2 separate regions of the Homo sapiens genome follow, and region 2 is linked to region 1. The links are contacts of gene promoters, found by promoter capture Hi-C in blood cells and fetal thymus (Javierre and others, 2016). All regions are on one chromosome and are shown on one strand. Each heading gives the region's core, a stretch centred on a gene start or on the middle of the fragment in contact. The rest is flanking DNA. Distances are from core to core; before and after follow the strand shown.

Region 1 (3,682 bases), core at 330-2,829:
CTTTTTTTCTCACTTGAGATACCAAAGTATATCCTCACATGCCAATACACTTCTGTATCTATTGCCACTTTCTTTTCTTTCTTTCTTTTTTTTGAGACAGAGTTTTGCTCTTGTTGCCCAGGCTGGAGTGCAATGGCACGATCTTGGCTCACTGCAACCTCTGCCTCCCAGGTTCAAGCGATTCTCCTGCCTCAGTCTTCGGAGTAGCTGAGATTACAGGCTCCCACCACCATGCCTAGCTAATTTTTGTATTTTTAGTAGAGACGGGGTTTCACCATGTTGGCCAAGCTGGTCTCGAACTTCTGACCTCAGGATATCCGCTTGCCTTGGTCTCCTAAAATGCTGGGTTTACAGGCGCGAGCCACCACGCCTGGCCTCTACTGCCACTTTCAATGGTCACATATTATCATGCACTGACATTTATTCACAAAATCCATTCTATGGGTTCTCCTTAATACACTGCTTAAGCAATGCTGAGAAAAACAAATTACTTGTATATCTATTTCCTAAAGGCATTTTATTTCTTTTTCTTTTTGAAAGATAGGGTCTTGCTCTGTTGTCACTGACATACCTCACTGCAGCCTAGAACTCCTGGGCTCAAGTGATGCTCCTGCCTCAGCCTTCCAAGTAGCTGAGACTATTAGAGTTGGGGGGGGGGGTCTCGCTATAATGCCCAGGCTGGCCTTGAACTCCTGGCCTCAAGCAATCCTCCCGCCTCAGCCTCCCGAAGTGCTGTGATTACAGGCGCGAGCCACCGCGCCTGACGAATAACAGATTTTATAGAAATAATTTTTAACCCAGAAGTTGCTATATTATGGAAACTGCTTATCTCATTATGCACCTTTCCATAAGTGTATGACATTGTATCTTAAATGTGTACATTAAAAATAAAACGCTGTACGTGCTTTTGTTCGTTAATTCACTTTAAAATTGTCACTTAAGTGCTCTCTAAGGGATTTCGGGGGGATCGGAAACCAGCTAGAGTTCTGTTTTTGTTTTTCTGCTCAGAAAGGCGGCCTGGGCGCTGGAGCCCTGCAAGGTGTCACCGTCCCAGGGGCTACGGAGCCCGCGGGAGGCTGATCCAGGCCCTGGGTGGCTCCCACAAAAGGGGCCCCTCTTCCTGCCCGCCTACTCCAGTGGCACTCAGTCCGGGCTTGCGACGCCTATTACCTGTTCATCTTGTCTCTATCGTTCAAGCCATTCTTCCTGAGCAAAAGGATCTGCTGCACTTTCGCCACATTACCCGCGCTGGCAGCTTTGTGGATCTTGCCGAGATCTCGGTCTCGGACGTGGTAGCCGGGCTGCGAGTAGGCGCCCTCCCCCGGCTCGCCCCCGCCTCCCGCGCTGCTCCTCTGCCGCCGCGCGAAGGAGCCCAAGGGCGACTCGCCCTTCTTACTAAAAATCTTCTTCATGGCCCAGGCGACCGGGCTTCAGAGACACCTCATGTCTCTCTCGGCTCTTAACGGCCTCCGGAGCCCAACATAACAAGTCAGCCCCGGCTGGCCGCAGCCTCCCAAAGGAAACTCCGCGGTTTCCAATCTCTCCCTCCGGGTTACCAAGCAAGCGATCCCGCTAGACACAAGTGCGCATGCGCACCTCAGATGGCAAGGTCCACGCGCGTGCGCACGAAGGCCCAGTGGTCAAGTGTGCTCCATGCGCATGTGCAAGGCCCAGACCTCGCAAATCTCGGCGACTGGGACGAGCCCTGCGTTCCTGTCAAACAAATGTCGGTGGGAGTCTGGCTGAGTGTTCAGGACGTTTGCGAAAAGAAGCCTCGCGCCTGTGGGGAAGCAGCCTTTACGCATGACTGGGACTGGAGTAGCGTGGAGTTTTAAGATGCTGAAAGCCTCTTCTCCGAGAAAACTCCCCTAAGAAACTCTCTGAATCTCCCTATCTCTCAGTTTATTCCCCTTCCATGTCCCTTTGGGTGCCATCTGGTCTCCATGAGAACTTAACAGATGCAACAACAGAGGGCACAGGATTTCGGAGATCGTGGCATATGTGTCAAGTGCAGAGGGCACAGGATTTCGGAGATCGTGGCAATATGTGTCAAGTGCAAACTTACGAGGAGAAACCAATGCACATTCTCCAGAAGAAATGAGAACGCATTTCTGCATGCCTCCTTCCCCCACCCCTCTGCCTTTGGCCCAGCCTTATGTTTTATTTTTTGCTTTTGATTTTCCAAGGTTACATCTCTTTCTTCTTTTTTTTTTTTTTTTCCCCAACAGAGTCTCGCTTTGTCGCCCAGACTGTAGTGCAGTGGTGCAATCACGGCTCACTGCAGTCTCCACCTCCTGGGCTCAACGATACTCCCACCTCAGCCTCCTGAGTGAGTAGCTGAGACTACAGACGCAAGCCACCACGCCCGGCTATTTTTGCATTTTTTGTAGAGACAGGGTCTCACCATGTTGCCCAGGCTGGTCTCCGACTCCAGGGCTCAAATGATGCTCCCATCTCAGCCTCCCAAAGTGCTGGGATTACAGGTGTGAACCACCACGCCCAGCCTAGATTGAATAATTTGACAACAAATTGGAATTAGCAACGCAGACGTCAAGTGGAGTCTCAGCAGAAATTGCTGCTGGAATGCACCTCCATAGCTCTGGACAGCTCTAGGGTCCCTTGTGGAGGAGGTGGCTGGCCCCAGAACAGGCGTCTTTATTGCCAAGTGAGAAATGAGCAAAAACAAAACAACACTTCTCAGGCCTCTCCAGCTTAGCTAGATCAAATGGTTTTGATGTGGGAGAGTGGTTTCCACTATCGTCACCAAGAATTTTCCTCCTACACTACCCCAGCTAGAAAGTTATGTTGTCTCCTCAACACTCCCCAAGGTGATCTATGAAGCTAGTCAAGTCCCAGCACTTTAGGAGGCCGAGGTGGGTGGATTACCTGAGGTCAGGAGTTCGAGACCAGGCCAACGTGGTGAAACCCCGTCTCTACTAAAAATACAAAAATTAGCTGGGTGTGGTGGTGCATGCCTGTAGTCCCAGCTACTCGGGAGGCTGAGGCAGGAGAAACACTTGAACCTGGGAGGCAGAGGTTCACACCACTGCCTCTGGAGTGGAGACTCTTGGATGGAGACCACGACTCTCTCTCAAAAAACAAAAACAAAAACAAACAAAAAATACTCAAGTGTGGAGAACACTGACTCTGAACAGAGGACTCTGACATTTCCTAATGCAGCCTGAAATTAAGGCCAAAGACATTACCAGTCTGGATGGATATAGGAATCACACACCACTCTCCAGGTAAGTTGTAGAGATTTGGTTGACTATAGTGTTTTTGTATAGACCAGAGATACCCAAGGACTATATGTTAGGCCAGCTCTGAGGTGTTGAATTCATCAGCCAAATGCTGGATCCCCAAAAAGTTTCTTGGAGTTCATTGAAAGCTAAGATCTCCCATTCATATGGAAATTAATTTCAGATCCAGAGCAGACACCCTCTAGAAAGTTGTCACTTGGAACTCCCATGCCTATCTAAGGCTAAAGTAATGCCCTGGTTCAGTTTTCCTATACCCTCATTTAATAATTATGTCAATGAAATTAATGTGTTAGGGGAATATTTGTTTTATAGTGAAAATCAACTGAGATATGAATGCCTTAGCAAATCCCTTAGATAAAGCTCTTTTTTTTTTTTTTTTTGAGATGAAGTCTCGCTCTGTCTCCCAGGCTGGAGTGCAGTGG
Region 2 (3,682 bases), core at 700-3,199, 770 kb before region 1:
GTGGCTCACACCTGTAATCTCAGCACTTTGGGAGGCCCAGCTGGGCAGATCACTTGAGGTCAGGAGTTCAAAAGCAGCCTGGCCAACATGGTGAAACTCCATCTCTACTAAAAGTACAAAAATCAGCTGGGTGTGGTGCACATGCCTGTAATCCCACCTACTTGGGATGCCAAGGCAGGAGAATCCTTTGAACCCAGGAGGCAGAGGTTGCCATGAACAGAGATCACAGCACTGCACTCCAGCCTGGGTGACAGAGCAAGACTCCATCTCAAAAAAAAAAAAAAAAAAGAAAAGAAAAAAAAAAAGAAAAAGTACACCTAAGAGAACTCTGAATGCACATATGGACCCATCGGATTAGAAATATTGATTGCTGGCAAAAATGAGTGCCTTTTGAGTTGTTGGAACCAAAGGAGTATTTATACCAACTTATTTGAAAATGTCTTAATCACTAAGTATATTAAATATGGGAAACTGAAAGGTTTGCTTGGATATAGTGCAGGTGGAAAACTGGAAAATATGTAAATAAATCTTAGGCTCAGAATTCACCTCAACCCTAGGGTGTCCAGATCATACAACTATGGATATAAAATCTGCCGATCATCACATTTGAAAGAAAGGGAGAAAGTAAGCGTTTTTTTAAAACTGAGTGACAAATCCAGACAGACAGAAAAAATATGACAAGAATACAATTAGCAAAAATGTAAACGAATCTGATCAAACATAGCAATTTGTTGAGAGATTTTTTTAATTTTCCACATCAAAAGTTATGTTAACATTGCCCTGAAGGGTCTCCACTAGAGATAGCTAAATTGGTAATATATGAATTCAGTAAGTACTAGACATGCCATGATGGTCTATGGCATGAATTCCTGATGTTTTTGAATCATGAACCCCTTTGAGATTGACATTAGTGCTATGAGGCCCTCTCTAAGAGAAAGGATATAAACAAAATATTTCAATGCACCAAATATTAATTTTCTTCATGTAGCTGAGATGAAAGCAAGTTTTTGGTTTTGTTTCATTTTATGATTTTCAAAACATCGGTAATAAAATGAAGACAGGTATCCTGTGCCTACTTCACAGAGTCCTAGAAGCTGAGTCATAGACCTCAGAGGGTCATAGAATCACAGGTTTAGAACTTTTGATCCTGGGATAAGTTTTGATTTGAAACTACAAAGGAGCTCAAGTTCAGAGAGAAAGACCTCCTTCATTCTCAAAGCCACCATATATATATATATATATATTTTAATGGCCAAGGACACACAGAGGAGAGGGAGCTCATTGAAGAATCAATGAATCAGATTCCTCTATTCCCTTCTGAAATTCATCTGGGCAATCTTTCTCTATGAAAACGAATACTACAATGAATATCCTTGCCTGCACACATTCACACACTGGACTAATTACTTTTTTAATGTGAACTCTTGAAGCAGATTTTTTTTTTTTTTTTTTTTTTTTTTGGAGACAGAGTCTCACTCTGCCACCCAGGCTGGAGTTCAGTGGCGCTAACACAGCTCACTGCAGCCTCAACCTCCCAGGCTCAAGTGATCCTCCCACCTCAGCCTCCTGAGTATCTGCAACCACAGATGCATGCCACCATGCCTAGCAATTTTTTTTTTTTGGAACAGAGTTTCTTGTTGCTCAGCTGGAGTGCAATGGTGTGATCTCCTCTCACTGCAACCTCTGCCTCCCAGGTCAAATGATTCTCCTGCCTCACCTGCCAAGTAGCTGGGATTACAGGCGCCCACCACTAAGTCTGGCTACTTTTGTATTTTTGGTAGAAACAGGGTTTCACCTTGTTGGCCAGCCAGGCTGGTCTCGAACTGCTGACCTCAGGTGATCCACCTGCCTCGGCCTCCCAAAGTTGTGGGATTACAGGCATGAGCCACTGCACCCGGCCTAATTTTTAAATTATTTATAGAGATGGGGAATCTCCCTATGTTGCCCAGGCTGGTCTTGAACTCCTGGGCTCAAGTGATCCTCCCACCTTGGCATCCCAAAGTGCTGGGATTACAGATGGGAGGCACCACTCCTAGCCAAAGAAGACATTTTTAATCAAAGAGTGGGTGCATCTTTAAAGTTTTTAGTACACATGGCCAAATTTCCCCACAGAAAACCTGTATCAATTTGTACTCAGATAAGCAGAGTACAAATTGATACAGATTTGAACTCTGTGCAGGGATTGCCCCCACCTCCCAAATCATCACCAACACTTCCTTGACCTTATTTTATTGCTTTTTAAAAGTTAATTCATATATCTTATTCATGTAAGTATCTGTTTATCATTCATTTAATATAAAAGAGTAAGTCTAGGAGATCCCAGGTCATGGAACCCTTGACAAACCAAGGTGGCTAGTTTTGACTTTAAAACTCCTAAGAAAAATTAATGAGACACTGGGGAGCATGGGCACTAGGAAAAAAAAACATTAAATGGGACAATCTATATTAGAAAATGAAAAATCAATACCCCAGGCAGACTAAGACTTAAACATAAGCCTAGAACTATCCTCAAAGAGATAAAGACAGGTATTGAAAACATGAGGCAAGAAGAAAAAGTTACAGAAGGGAGATCAACTGGTGACACAGGGCATGAAAAATATCATAGTTGCAGGAATGCATTCGCCAGAATAAATTAAAGAGCAAAGTGGGAATGAAGAACCAACCAGTGGCCTTGAAGGATAAAAGATAAAAGAATGAAAGAAAAGTTAAGAGACATGGATGACAGACATCAAAACTGAGTGGAAGGCACCTGAGAGTGGACAACAATGTCACTTACTCATGATGATGTGTCAAGTCTAGAATAGGAACTCAGCAAAAGCATGCTCCCAGCTACTATTTCTTTTGGGAAAGTGGAAACCACTATATATATTCATATATGTGTGTATATATATATATATTCAAATATGTATATAAATATTCAATATATAAATATATCTGTATATATATTCATTTCTGTGTTTTACTGAGTTTCCTTATAAAAGTGTTCCAGATGGTGACAAGAAATTCCAAAATATATTTTATTCAATATAATTTTCAAAACTATACTGTTTACCTCTTAAGTAAGAAAACCCAGATTGCAGGCTTCTTCTTTAATGTGCTGTCATGAAATCAAGTGTATTTTTAACATGTTCTGAACAGAGTAATTTATAAAGAGATAGGATATAATTTGAAGATTGGGATAAACATCATCCTAAAGATAAAACAAGAGAAAAGATGTCTTGTTGGCTAAATAAAAAACATTGTACAAATTGTTTCTCATTTGGTAGCATCTATTTGATGAATATAAATATGCTGGGTTTTTTCTTAAAAAATAAAAAGGACTTGCTAAAAGAAAAACTTTAGCTGAATTAAATTTAAAGCAGTTTAATTCAGCAAAGAACAATTTGCAAATCAGGCAGCCTCCTGAGCCAGAGAAGGCTCAGAGACTCCAGCAGAGACATATGGTGGAAGAATATTTATGGACAGAAAAAGGGAAGTGATGTACAGAAAATGGAAGTGAGTTACAGACACAGCCGGATTGGTTACAGCTCAGCGTTTGCCTTATTTGAACAAAGTTTGAACAGTTAGCCACTTTTGATTGGCCAAAACTTGGTGATTAGCACAGAATAGATTACAGTCTGTTTATAACTCCATTTAGATCATAGTTCACAATGTACGGAGAAATCTTTAGGCTGAACTTAAA

Evidence for each region. Contacts are between HindIII fragments. The CHiCAGO score rates a contact against its expected background, and 5 or more counts as called.
Region 2: a fragment that was not itself captured here is called in contact with the fragment with the promoter of ANKRD26 in region 1 in 1 of 17 cell types (neutrophils); the score reaches 6.1 in neutrophils.

The regions. Positions count from the first base shown.
Region 1 is chr10:27,098,915-27,102,596 of GRCh38, forward strand. It overlaps ANKRD26 (ankyrin repeat domain containing 26), which reads right to left and starts at 1,580. Exons shown (of 34, transcript NM_014915.3): 1 at 1,171-1,580. The coding sequence starts at 1,412. RefSeq lists an enhancer at 1,017-1,076 and a silencer at 1,247-1,426. The HindIII fragment of the contact is 14,700 bases long and covers 1-3,682 here.
Region 2 is chr10:26,323,582-26,327,263 of GRCh38, forward strand. No RefSeq gene overlaps it. Among named protein-coding and RNA genes, the nearest start is that of GAD2, 110 kb to the left of the region's middle. The HindIII fragment of the contact is 4,363 bases long and covers 1-3,682 here.